Regions from separate parts of the Homo sapiens genome. Here region 2 is linked to region 1. Evidence: promoter capture Hi-C in 16 types of primary human blood cells and fetal thymus (Javierre and others, 2016). All regions are on one chromosome and are shown on one strand. The core of a region is centred on a gene start or on the middle of the fragment in contact, and the rest is flanking DNA. Distances in the headings are between cores, read along the strand shown.

Region 1 (6,802 bases), core at 1,572-4,071:
CAAGTGATCCCCCTGCCTTGGCCTCCCAAAGTGCTGGGATTACAGGTGTGAGCCACTGTGCTCAGCTGGATCTCATTTTTAAATTGAGGCATCTGAGTCCCGGAGGGCTTTGATTCCCGGCCCAGGCTTCTTTCCTTTGGGTATAGATTTAGCAATACTCTGGTCTGACCCAGGCAGATGTTCTTGTTTTATTATACATAGCGATCTCTCTTGTTAGAACTCAATTCTAAGCTCATGTCTTATTCTATGTTCTAATTGTGTTAACAGGCATATGTGCATTGTCGTGTATGGTGCTCAGTCATCTAGGGAGGAGGAGCATCCTAGAATGGGAGAAAGTATCATATAAGAGAAAGAACGCTAACCTCAGGTAGCTCTGGGCTGAGATTCTAGCTAGTAGCTGTGTTATCCCTAGGAAGCCCTAGTTTCCTCATCTGTAAAAATAGCACTACTGGATCAAATAATTGGGTGGATTAATGTGTGCCACATACTGAGATAGAGGTGTCATCTGTCTCCATCTATCCATTCACCTCAGTGTTGAAAGTTGAAATAGATTGAATGAAAATCACAAAAAGGGTATGGGATCCTGTATTTGTTCTATTAAGAGGTAGCATATTTCTTGGTAAGTGAAGATAGACCCCCCCACACCCCCGCGAAAAGAATTAGAACATTGTCACATAGCAGTTCCTCTTCTGGGGTTGTATCTTACTGAAGCACTTGCCCCAATATAAGGATGTTTGTTGCATTACTATTTGAGGAGCCAACTTACCTAAATTATCTGAATGTCCGCAAGCTGGAATGATCCAAGCCTCTGTGTGCTGACTTGGACATCTTCCCATAATATTTGCTTTCTGGAACTAAAAACATATATAAATAACATATATATATATTTGGGATCTTAAACCTGCATATTAAGATCTACTGGTAGATGTTAGTTTTATCTGAAAGTTTCCACATAAATTGTGAGCACCAATGCCCATCTCAACCATTTGGTTGCCCTCCTCAACCAGTTTGGTTGATCCAATGCCAGCGCCCAGCTCCCACTGCAGGCATCACCACACGACCCTGATCTGGCAGACGCTGTGCACAGGGACGTCTACGGGGGTGGGAGGATGGGTTCCAGGGAAACTGTTCTTTCTTAATAAAAAGGAACTGATGTGGTTGGAGCTGCCCTTGCTCCCCTCTTTGCATCTTCAACGTGGGCCAGATGTTCAGAACTGCAGTGACATTTTGTGCCCCCAGGATGCCAAGCAAGGGGCACAATCCAGCCGACCAAGGATGACAGAGACGAGACAGAGAGGGGTCCCAGTGGAACCAAGAACAGCTGAATGAACACCAGCCACCACCTCCTAGTGCACTCCTGGTCTATGAGGAAATAAACCCCCACGTGTAAATTGCTCTAGTTGTTCTATTTCTTGCAGCTGAACACATTCTAATCGACATAACTGTCAGGGGAAAAGACCTTCAGAGAAATGTGCATGTTGTACTGTTTTGTGAAATGAGATTATGTATGATTGCACAATAGTTGTGAGCACATTGAAAGACTGGAAGGGCGGCTGGGCGTGATGGCTCACGCCTGTAATCCCAGCACTTTGGGAGGCCGAGGCGGGCGGATCACGAGGTCAGGAAATCGAGACCATCCTGGCTAACACGGTGAAACCCCGTCTCTACTAAAAATACAAAAAATTAGCCAAGCGTCGTGGCAGGCGCCTGTAGTCCCAGCTACTCGGGAGGCTGAGGCAGGAGAATAGCGTGAACCTGGAAGGCGGAGCTTGCAGTGAGCCGAGATCACGCCACTGCACTCCAGCCTGGGCGACAGAGTGAGACTCCATCTCAAAAAAAAAAAAAAAAAAAAAAAAAAAAACTGGAAGGGCAATAATAGGTAACAAAGTACTGAGCACCTACTATACTAGGTACATCTCATTGCAGCCACTCTATAAGATGGATGCTTCACGGTTATGCTCATTTAAGAGTGAGACAACTGAGGTTCCAAGGGGTTTAATAACTTTCTCAAATCATGCAACCAACAGATAGCTAGCTTGGGACTCACAGCCAGGTCTGGCTGGCCCTAGAGAAAGTGCTTCCACCACCATATGCACCCCACCAGTGCCTACTGGCTGCACAGACCGCCACCAGCCCTAGCAGCAGTGATTTCTGGAGAGTGGGATGGGAGAATGGGCTGGTGGTGAGGAGGTTTGTCTTTATCCACTTCTTTAGTGTTTCCTTTTTAACAAGCAATTTTTGTTACAAAAGTGGACATCCAGAGATATTGACAAAATAACACTGGTGCCAGGAACTGTGCTAGGAATATAATAGTTTTCTTCCGGATCTGGATCTCTACTGTGGATATCCACTGGTCATACATGCCTACTGGAAATAAAAAGCATTCTTTCCTAACTTATTCCAAACCCTGGCTAAAGGAATTCTGGGGTTGCCATTATGTTACTATGTGACCTACGTCCCAGATAAGGAACCTGCGAATCTGCCACCTCCGCCCTCGGGAGAGCCAGGCCCTGCAGTCACTATATGTGAAGAATCCTTTGGAGCCTGGAATAAGAGGGTTTTATGCATCATTTTTTAATCAACTGGATTTCTCACCTCCCACCTGTGCCTAAATGGTGGCTTCTTGGTATCTTGAAAGGGGGTGCTCAGCAGGAGAAAGCAGCTCCATGTTTCTGGGCAGCCCGTCCTATTTACAGACTGCTGCGGCTCCCTGGCAGCTGCCACAGTCCCCGAGGCCAGAGGGAGTTCCTTGAGGGCCCCAGCAGTTGTTTGAGTCATGTGTTTTGGGCCCTTTTCCTTAGAGATCCTGGCAGGGCCAGCACAGATTTCTTATCGGCTTCCACACTGCGGAGCTGCAGCCCTCAGAAGTAAGCAAGGTTTCCTGCCGGGAGAAAAGGATTTGAAGCATTCCAGCCAAAATGACGGACAGAAGCCCCTTCGAAACCGACATGCTCACCCTGACCCGCTACGTTATGGAAAAGGGGCGTCAGGCCAAAGGGACTGGGGAGCTCACCCAGCTGCTGAACTCAATGCTGACGGCCATCAAAGCCATCTCCTCGGCTGTGCGCAAGGCCGGTCTGGCCCACCTGTGAGTCCTGGGGAGCAGGCATGGGGCACAGAGCACCCCAGGCCCAGGCAGGGGTGTGGGAGCTGCAGGTGCTTTGGCAAGAAACTGGGTCCAAAGCTTATTGGCCCTGTGTGCCCTAGATGGAAGCTGCATTTCAAGTTCCTATCATGTGTGCTTTGATAAAGGGGCCTTTGACTTGTTTTGAGAAAGGAACGAAAACATGCTATGAAGAAATACACATATAATTTTTCCAGTTATTATAATGATACCAAGTGCAGTGGCTTGTTGCATTAAAATATGTATTGTGTTATCATGACTTGTACTTGCACAGAGAGAGTCTCACTGGAACAAAGAAGTAGAGGGGTGACGTGAAATATCTCTTTATGCCTCTTGCAGACATGAGTGTTTTATTGTAATAAGCTTTGCAAATATGTTAGGAGCTGGAAATTATGTACGACATAGGAAGCTTGGTAGAGCCCCTTCCTGCATCTGCTCTCTCATCATCTAAAGGAGTGTTTTGCTGGCTACGTGTTTTATTTCTTCTCTGTGACTCTTTCTTTATCTTCACCTCCACTTGGTGTGCAGGAAGCCGGGAGGTGCTAGTCCTGGGAGGGGAGCGCAGAGGTTTCTTCCACAGGGTTCTCTTTGGTGCTTTATCCGAGCATAGATGAGGCCAGGTTCACATTACACTGCTGATGGTCACAGCCCAGTGTCCAGTTTAAGTCTGTAATAAAAAGAATCCGGTGGCCAGGCACGGTGGCTCCTGTCTGTAATCCTGGCACTTTGGGAGGCCAAGGTGGGTGGATCATGAGGTCAAGAGATCAAGACCATCCTGGCCAACATGTTGAAACCCTGTCTCTACTAAAAATACAAAAATTAGTTGGGTGTGGTGGCGGGCGCCTGTAGTCCCGGCTACTCGGGAGGCTGAGGCAGGAGAATCGCTTGAACCTGGGAGATGGAGGTTGCGGTGAGTCGAGATCGTACCACTGCACTCCAGCCTGGGTGACAGGACGAGATTCCATCTCAAAACATACAAACAAACAAACAAAACCCCAGCTTTCTTTGGGCTTCCCTTGTAGTAATTCCAGGGGAGGTCCTCTCAGGAGCTGAAGGAACACATATTTTGGGGATGAAAGAGACTCAAAATGAGGAGCTAACAAAGTCCAATCATTTAAAATATTTACTCTGAGCAATTAAGTGCTTTTAACACAAAAAGTGATAGCATTAGATTACAAGATGTAATTATCATTTGATCACCACAGACTGTATTTATTTAGGGGTGGTGACCCAGTAGCAGGACCCAGGTTAACGGTGCATTATCCTTGCTTTTTTCCTGTGGGTGGATGCTTCAGCTCTGTTTTTACCTCATTTGGCAATAACAGCCACGCTCTGCATTTAATCGCCTTCCAGAATGTGAGGGCAGGCGGTGCCCTGTTCTGCTCCTGTGGGTGACAGCCCTGCTGAGTGACGGTAGACAGGGACTTTGCCTCTCCCTGTGCGGACCCTGCTATCCTCAATGCGGTTGCCTGAGTCCATCTCAGGGTGATTCATCCACATAAATTGGGCTCCCCCTCTGTGCAGGGCTCTTGGCTAGGCAGTGGCTGCCATGGTAGGGGTCTTGCTTATCTGCTGCAAAACTCTGACTTTATGGCGGTTGAGCAAGGAGACAAAGTGGCCCTAGGAACTGGATAATTGAGGTGCTTATTAATTTGGCATTTCCTACCGTGTGATAATGGGCGTGATTTACTCTTGCTAGGACCTTAGATTCCCTTTGTGAAATGGAGAGTATAGTAGCATCCCTAACTCTTAGGGTTGTTGCAGAGTTAGCGAGCGCATGTGATGACGATTTCAACTGTGCCGGCCCCGTAAGACACGCACAGTGCCTGTCACTACCGCGGTTCCAAGCCCAGACCAGATTTGCCTGTGCCTGAGCCGTCAATGACCACTGGCGGCATTTGAGGAGCCTTTCAGCCCCCCACTGCACTGTGGGAGCCACTTTCTGGGCTGGCCAAGGCTGGAGCCCACTCCCTCAGCTTTCAGGGAGGTGTGGAGGGAGAGGTGCGAGCGGGAACTGGGGCTGCGTGCGGCGCTTGCGGGCCAGCTGGAGTTCCGGGTGGGCGTGGGCTTGGCGGGCCCGCACTCCGAGCAGCCAGCCAGCCCTGCTGGCCCCCGGCAATGGGGGACTTAGCACCCGGGCCAGTGGCTGCGGAGGGTGTACTGAGTCCCCCAGCAGTGCTGGCCCACTGGCGCTGCGCTCGATTTCTCGCTGGGCCTTAGGTGCCTTCCCGCGGGGCAGGGCTCGGGACCTGCAGCCCGCCATGCCTGAGCCTCCCATCCACTCCATGGGCTCCTGTGCGGCCCGAGCCTCCCCGACGAGCGCCACCCCCCGCTCCACAGCGCTCAGTCCCATCGACCACCCAAGGGCTGAGGAATGCGCGCGCACGGCGCAGGACTGGCAGGCAGCTCCACCTGCAGCCCCGGTGCGGGATCCACTAGGTGAAGCCAGCTGGGCTCCTGAGTCTGGTGGGGACGTGGAGAGTCTTTATATCTAGCTCAGGGATTGTAAATACACCAATCAGCACCCTGTGTTTAGCTCAAGGTTTGTGAGTGCACCAATCGACACTCTGTATCTAGCTGCTCTGGTGGGGCCTTGGAGAACCTGTGTGTGGAAACTCTGTATCTAACTAATCTGATGGGGACGTGGAGAACCTTTGTATGTAGCTCAGGGATTGTAAACGCACCAATCAGCGCCCTGACAAAACAGGCCACTCGGCTCTACCAATCAGCAGGATGTGGGTGGGCCAGATAAGAGAATAAAAGCAGGCTGCCTAAACCAGCATCGGCAACCCGTTTGGGTCTCTTTCCACACTGTGGAGGCTTTGTTCTTTCGCTCTTGCTGCTGCTCACTCTTTGGGTCCACGCTGCTTTTATGATCTGTAACACTCACCGCGAAGATCTGCAGCTTCACTTCTGAGCCCAGTGAGACCACGAGCCCACTGGGAGGAACGAACAACTCCAGATGCGCCACCTTAAGAGCTGTAACACTCACCGCGAGGGTCCGCGGCTTCATTCTTGAAGTCAGTGAGACCAAGAACCTACCAATTCCGGACACACCACCACCCAGGCAGGGGACCGCAAGCCCCTGGCTCCTTTTGGGGAGATCTTTCTAGCAAGGGCTCCGTGAATGCAATTTAAAAGTTATGAGAGTCTCCTTTTCCCCTTCTCTTTCCTCTTCTTATGGTGGGAACAAGAGAGGCTGGAGTGCCCGCCTGGAGCCTCTCCTTGGCTTTCTCATGGCCGTGGGGGATCATTCCTTTAGAGACTGTTAGTTAGCTTTAGTGTCAGTCAGAACACTGCAAGATACTGTCCTACGGGCTAGAGAGCCCCTTTCCCCCATCATCTCAGGTGAAGCTATTGCCGGGAACTCACATCTCCTGGTGAGTTTCCATTCTTTCTAGGAGGAGGGGTGCTGCCCAGTGCCTGGAGAGAGGGTGCAGGGGGTCGGCTGAGGGGTGGGGTTAGGCGGATGAGGGGGCATTTGCAAAGCGCAGGACAGAGGCTGTTTCTCAGCTCTGCCCACCGCAGGCCTGGGCCTGCTGTTCATCCTCCAGTGGCAAGCGCATTCAGATTCCATATCGAACCAAGGCCTGTGTTTGTGGTCCCCTGAAACTCAGATGCAGTCAGCCTAGTTTTGTTGCTGCTGTTGCTTGCTTGCTTTTGTCTTGACCAGGAGGC
Region 2 (6,802 bases), core at 3,462-5,961, 540 kb before region 1:
GACTTGAAAGTTTACCACGATAGAAGAGAAAGGAAGACGTGTATATTAAGACTGAGAGAGCCCAAACAGATTTCTTAAGGATAATTACTACCTAACCTTACCATCCGGAAGAGTCATATATTAAGGCAAGAAATAGGAATGCACCTTATTTTAAAATGGTTGCAGTACAATTCAAAATAAATCATGACTTTCAGAAGCCCTCTGACAGCCCATTCCTGGTGATTCAAGGTCATAAATTACCTTTATTGTCTGCTAAATCTATTACTAACTTACATGTGCATACTAGGATTTCAGTTTCTCTGGTCCCTTTTCAGTGGCAAAATGATAGTAACTGGGCTATATGCTTGCTTCCAGGGTGCTTATGACATTTTCCTTAAGTCTTCTCCCTATTGAAAAATTCTAGTCCCATTGCCTTTTTTCCAGCCTTTCCTTAATCCTTGGATTCTTCCCTGAACCTTCTCCATGTCCTTTTTGCCTGTGGCCCTCATGCCTGAGCAGCACTGTGGTGAGCACAGCAGATGCAAGACAGAGAACGCAGGCCGTCCCATTGCACATAACTGTATAATGCTCAGTCTCCAGTTTGTAGTTTACAGTAATCTCCCACGAGTCACACAGCTTTGAAGTCAGTTGACTTACAAAAGCTTTTATCGGGATCATGTGTGCAGAAATTCAGAGCTTCCATTATGGCTAAAGGGGGATTCTAGAGGGTGTTATTTGGTTTAATTTATTGTGGCATTGGCAGGATGTGACCTCTCTGTGCCTCATGGTTCAAGGACGTAATTACAATACAGACGATGGCTGGAAGCCCCTGATTGGTGTGGGCTGTTCTCCTCAGCATCCTGGGCCTGCAGTGCCAGAAAGCCAGGCAGGCCGCAATAGGCCTGTGACGTGGCTAAGTGATTGCAGGGGTAACCTGAAGAGCCTGCTTCCTAATTGCATCATCTGATTCATTTATCGCAGTGCAGTATCTTGGTGCAGTGACAGGACTGTACAGAAGTATCAGAGAGATCTCTAAGACTCAGATAGCACGAGACTGCTGCGCTGTGCTCCAGAGGAAACCTGATGCCTATTACATTAGAGTTGGATTCTGAGAGTAATTAAAGTGTGATGGTCTACATAACTTGTGTTTTATATAGAGCACTGTTAATTATATTTCTCTCTCTTGGGACTATGCAGAATGAGTCCTGGAAATTCTATAGTTACCAAAATGTAACAAAAACAAAAGATAAAAGTGTGGTACAGGTTGTACAAAGTGAAATGACCTTCCCAAATGTTCTTTGGCCTCTTGGACTCGCAGGTCTGATATTTTCCATTAAGACCATGAATAATGAGGGATTAGTCTCTTATTACCTGAGTTCCAAATGACTATGTATGTATTTAACATCTAAAATAAAAGAAAAGTTTTCAAAACCCGTTCACTTTTGAGGCTTCCCCTTTGGCTTCCGTGCGGTGGACTGGACTGCTGTCGAGTCATGCTGTCTGCCACGGTTGGTAGCTCCTACATCAAGTGAGGTATTAGCCCTAGATTGTCATTTACTGTACAGACTGAAACTTTTCAAAAGCAGATGGTCTTGTGTTTTCCTTGACAGCATGGGCACGGGAAGACCATAATCCATAGCTTCAGACCTGACCTTAAAAACCGATGTCACCGACAGCAGTGAAAGCCACTTGTTAATTATGCAGCCTTCTTGGCATTGTTCGGTTTCCCAAGGCTGGCCCCAAATTAGAAGGATGTTATGTTTTCCAGTTACAATTTTGTTTGTGGAGCCCAGAAAGCTATTCTTTGGATTCCACATTGGAATGAAAAGTGTCTGCAGGGTGTCAGGGTGGCACTGTGCTTGGCTGGCAAGCTGCATGCCAGGGCCGGAAGGTACCCGATTCTCATGCCCTCCCATTTGCTGGCAGAGCCCGCCCGCAGCTGGGTCCAGAGGAGCTAGCCTCACCTTCCCAGGCAGACTTGTCCCCAAAAGAAAGGAGCAGAGGAGGCGCCCAGGAGGCAGAGTTGTTTCTGCTAAGATTTGATATCAGAATATGCTTCATTTTCTCTCCTACCTAAAAATCTTTATGGCTTAATTCAAAAGATTACTTTATCTAATAAGAACTTAAGAATAAAAAGCATCTAGATACCTCAGTATCCTCCTCAATATGGGATAGGTTGTGTTTTTTTCCCTCATTCTCCAGGTAGCAATTGTAGCACTTCAGAAAGAAAAAGAAACTTCCTTTACACAGACTCCCAGTATGCAGCTCCTCCTTGGTAAAATATTGTGCTGAAGAGTTCACTCTACATCCTGGGTGATATTGTCAGTTTGCTGTGCTTAAGTAGCTTTTCACTAACATGCCAGGGTTTTCTTTTCCTGCTTTTTCAGTCTTTTCGGCACTTCCTTTTGAGCTCTTTAATGTGGTGCATGTAATTGAACAAGAGCTGAAGTAGATAATTTAGCAGTAGTCCAGTAGTGCTGGCTGATGTGTATGGCTAAAAGCTGGGAGGTTCTGCATCTTGGACTGGAGTTGCACTTTCCAGAATTAGCCTCAGGGGGGCACCAGATCCTCCAGCATAGTCTCTGTGAAGAAAGAGGCCCACGTTGCGAGTTTCCTTGCAATGGAATTGCAGTTGGGGATGCAGACCTTGTGGCCAGAGATGAAGGGAGAGAGGGAAAAACCCAAAAACAAAGCAGGGGTGGACGTAGGGGTCATTGCCACTCAGGCTGAGCTGTGAAGCAGCAGGGGGCTGAGGAGCTTTCTTCCAGCTTGGGCTACCCGGGCTAATTGGATAGAGGCCACTGGGCAAGGCTAGAAGGACTTCAGGCAGGGGAGGGGGTGCTGGGGATCCTCTGTGTCCAAACACAGAGAAGAGCACATGTAAATTTAAGACGCAAAAGTACATTTGGTACTTGTTAAGTTCTTAAGCCCAGGAATGACAGATTTATCACTAATTAAACAATAATTGCATTATGGAGTACTGAAAAAATTGTTTGTGTATAAACAACATCTGGTAAAGATTAAAAAGAAAGAATAATTTTTCCGAGCTCAAATTTGTTAAAAGGAACCTGAATGTTTTAAAACAAAATAGATCTGAAAATGTAAAAGGGATATTTAGAGTCTTATGTTTAGTATTTTGAAAATAGAAAAGAAGCAAATGGCATAATAAAAAATACATATTTATAAAGGTGCCTCATTGTACATGATAGATGTGAAGGTTTTGTATAAATAGGTTTTTCTCAAGCCAAATCATTTTTCACTTCAATAGAGGAGTTCACTGGTGAAATGACTCTTATGGAGAATCTTCTTTTTAAGAAGAAAGGTATTTTGTAGTGAATATGCACATATTAACAACAAGGGCTTCCCACTGTGGAGAGAACAGTGGCTCGGAAACAGCTACACGGTGGGACGGGATTGTCCGGCTGCTGGGTAAACTGGAGGGGAAGCTGCCCATCAGCTGATTCTTTAAATGACCCATTTCCTAAGTAAATATTTAAGCTACATGCAAGTACATGAAAATACCAGGAAAGAATCTATTCCAGGCTTAATGAACTTCAGCTTCTCTGTCATCTGCTATTTCCTTCTTTATTTTTAAGGCGAATATATCTATGAAAGGTGATAGATGGAAAGCACTTGATAATTTTTTCTGTTCCTTCACTGCCTTTTTATTTTTTCTAAAAGGGATTTGCTTTTGTCTGTGAGTTACCTTAAATCATAGTATAATTTCCCTTTTTGGTTTGTTTTCTGTCCCTCTCCTTTTCCCTATTCTCTCTCTCTCTCTCTCTCTCTCACACACACACACACACAGAATCAGCAAATGACAGAAAGAAATGCTTCTTCCTGAGAATTCTGTTCTTCTTGTTCTCAGGCCTCTTTCAAGTGGCAAGTGGCTTGTAATAATCATTGGTGAGTTGGTATGAAAATAACAGCTTAAGTAAACATCAAGGACCGGGCACAAGAGCCTGTGTAATTTGCACAGTTCATGGTGCAGAGTGACAAGTTGGCCTCTCCCTTGCCTCTCTTCCAAAACAGGCACTGAGACCATGGTTATTGTGTGTTGATTCCATGTTGACTTTGTCTTCCCTTGTGTTTTGAGGGATGAAGATGGGCTTTCTTTCTAGGTGGAGGGGAGATAAACAATGCAATTCTGGGTAGCCATGAGGGGAGATCAGAGGGAAAGCTCTTGTTAGCCCAAGGGGATGCACACCCAGCAGAACAATCGGGTCTATACAAGAGGGAGGGCAGAACCCAGAGCTCTCCATCTTCGCTCCCTAGTCATCCTGGGCATTCAGTGAAAAGCCTGAGGGGGGAGATAAGGAGGGAAGGACAAGACTCATGTTATTGAAGACCTCCTGCTGACATAGCTCCCCTCGAGTTGAAATGATCTGCCTGTGGAAATTGTTAGGCCAGATGGAGAAGAGAGAGCTTGAGAAGGAACAGATTTTGGTAGGATGGAGAAAAACAAACAGATGGAAACCACAAAAGGTTTATTTTATTTCCCCGCTTTTATAGAAAAGATAATGGCCGCAGTCATGGGGCTTCAGAGCCCTGGCTTGCAGCGTGACCTCTGGTGTGTTACCGGAGTGCCCCACCTTACAAATAAAACAGGATCAGAGGTTAGATGCCTGCGTCATCACTCATGAAGATGCTACAGAGATTTAGGGGGGAAGATACGGCTTCCAAAGAAGCGTGTATTAAAACCTTAATTCTATTTGGAAGATTATCTTGATAAGAAAAGCAGCTTAAGATTGCTTTTGTGATTTGATGTCGCTGGGACATATGCCTGACCTGTAGTACTCTAGTCCTCATGAGGGGACTCACTGACCCTGAAATTATGTGCTCAAAAAGTATAAAGAGTGTCATTTTAAAAGCCATCGGTGAGGGGTGCAGATGAGAAGGAGCAGTTCACAGCTGTAGGGGTAGCAAGGGAGACTGGTTTTCTTTTTTTTCAGTGAGGTCAGGAGATCGAGACCATCCTGGCCAACACGGTGAAACCCCATCTCTACTAAAAATACAAAAATTAGCCAGGTGTGGTGGCACGTGCCTGTAATCCCAGCTACTCAGGAGGCTAAGGCAGGAGAATCTTTTGAACCCAGGAGTTGGAGGTTGCAGTGAGCCAAGATCACCACTGCACTCCAGCCTGGCAACAGAATGAGACCCTGTCTCAAAAAAAAAAAAAAGGAGACTGGTTTTCAAATCAAAATCTCTGCCGTTGCTGTTTCTGCAGGTTCCCCTGCCTCCTGGCCTCTTACCTGTTTTAAAAGCTAAAATGGGTTGTGGAAGCAGGCTGAGAGTAGCCAAGGGTCTGAAATATTTGGAAAGAAAGAAATCTAAGAGGAGAGTCCATCTGTATGGGGAAGAACAAGCAGATTCCACACAGCCAGCAGGCATTTAAAACATTGGATTGAGCGATTTTGCTAGAAAACAGCGCACAGAAGAGGAGCAGATCTAAGCTCTCACTCTCTTCTAACAAACTGAGTAAGAGCTGTCTTCCTTGCTCCCCCAGTGGTTTTCATAGTAGCCCTAATCTACATCTGATCATCATTTTCTTTGCTGTTTGGAAATCCCTATAATTAGTATTGAATGATTCTCTACTAGCATCAAACCTATAGAATGGCTCTGGGATAGTTTGACCATTTAGAAAAAAGAAATTTAATTTTACCATTTTCAAGTTTCATCTTACTTTCTATCAACGCATTTCCAAGCTCTTATCTGTCTGCCTGTGGGCACATAACAGTGCTATTTGATCTTAAACACTCTTATTCAATAGGCATGTTGTTGTACAAACTTTGAAAATTGCTCTGGCAAACTTAGATGAATCACATTTCTTCAAGACATACGGTTGCTTTTCCCTTGTTTTATTTTTTCATTATGAATACATAGAAACTTTTATATTTTCCGTGCTTATATCCGGTGACCTCTTAATAACTTTTATTATTTACAGTGAGACTGGGCATCAGGAGATTAACTGACATGCCTAAGTTCGAAGCCACGAAATAACCTGCCTCTCCTCTCTTGAACGGTGGTCCTGCCAAATTATTTTCTTGCATAGATAATGAATTTATCTGTAAGAATATCAAGTTGGTTCCTTTTAGATAAAAATGCACATCAGTGAAGGATGAGGGAGCATAGATTATTTAAAGAGTAGGACATTTTAACTTGCAAATTAGAAATCTTGAAATAATTAAAAGGAGATTTATCCTGTCCTGAAAAAGTGGCAGAGCTCCTGCCTGGAGCCCGGCGGGTCCAGCAGTGCTGACCAGTGGACGCTAGATGGCGCGGGCTCAATGTCATCGGGGAGGCCGCGAGGAGGCGCGGTCCTGCCTCAGTGTGATCCAGGGCACGGCCGGAGCAGAGCGCCTCCTTTTTTCTTGCCGACGGGGGCCTGTGAACAGTGTTTCCCAAAGCTAGTCATATCAAATGCACTCTGACTTGAATTTCCAATAGCGCCTGATCCACTAACATGTGAATGCTGCTGTGAAGCAGGGGTCCCCGCCCCCTGGGCGCACAGCGGAGAGGAGCCCCTAGCCTTCCCGCCCGCACCTGCCCCTGTCAGAGCCCCGCGCTTCGCTTCCCACGGAACCAGAGCCCCATCCTGACTGCGCATGCCTGGAATCGGGTTGTCCTCTGATGATCTGAGGAGCAACCGTTTCATCCCAAAACCATCTCCCCCTCCCGGTCTGTGGAAACATTGCCTTCCAAGAAACCGGTACCTGGTGCCGAGAAAGTTACGGACCCTGCTATAAAGGATCTGTTTTGGAACACAAATGGGCATTTTCATCTGGCATCATCTCATACTTTGAGCTCTGGCCAAAAAGATAGG

Evidence for each region. Contacts are between HindIII fragments. The CHiCAGO score rates a contact against its expected background, and 5 or more counts as called.
Region 2: a fragment that was not itself captured here is called in contact with the fragment with the promoter of FBP2 in region 1 in 1 of 17 cell types (M2 macrophages); the score reaches 5.9 in M2 macrophages.

What each region holds. Positions count from the first base shown.
Region 1 is chr9:94,589,843-94,596,644 of GRCh38, reverse strand. FBP2 (fructose-bisphosphatase 2) reads left to right here and starts at 2,821. Exons shown (of 7, transcript NM_003837.4): 1 at 2,821-3,088. The coding sequence starts at 2,919. RefSeq lists an enhancer at 4,812-5,354. The HindIII fragment of the contact is 4,350 bases long and covers 1-3,186 here.
Region 2 is chr9:95,127,267-95,134,068 of GRCh38, reverse strand. All of the region lies in intron 8 of FANCC (FA complementation group C), which reads left to right. It also overlaps a transcript of AOPEP not described here. Among named protein-coding and RNA genes, the nearest start is that of MIR3074, 45 kb to the right of the region's middle. RefSeq lists an enhancer at 1,386-1,888 and silencers at 2,408-2,702, 3,848-4,142. The HindIII fragment of the contact is 8,135 bases long and covers 644-6,802 here.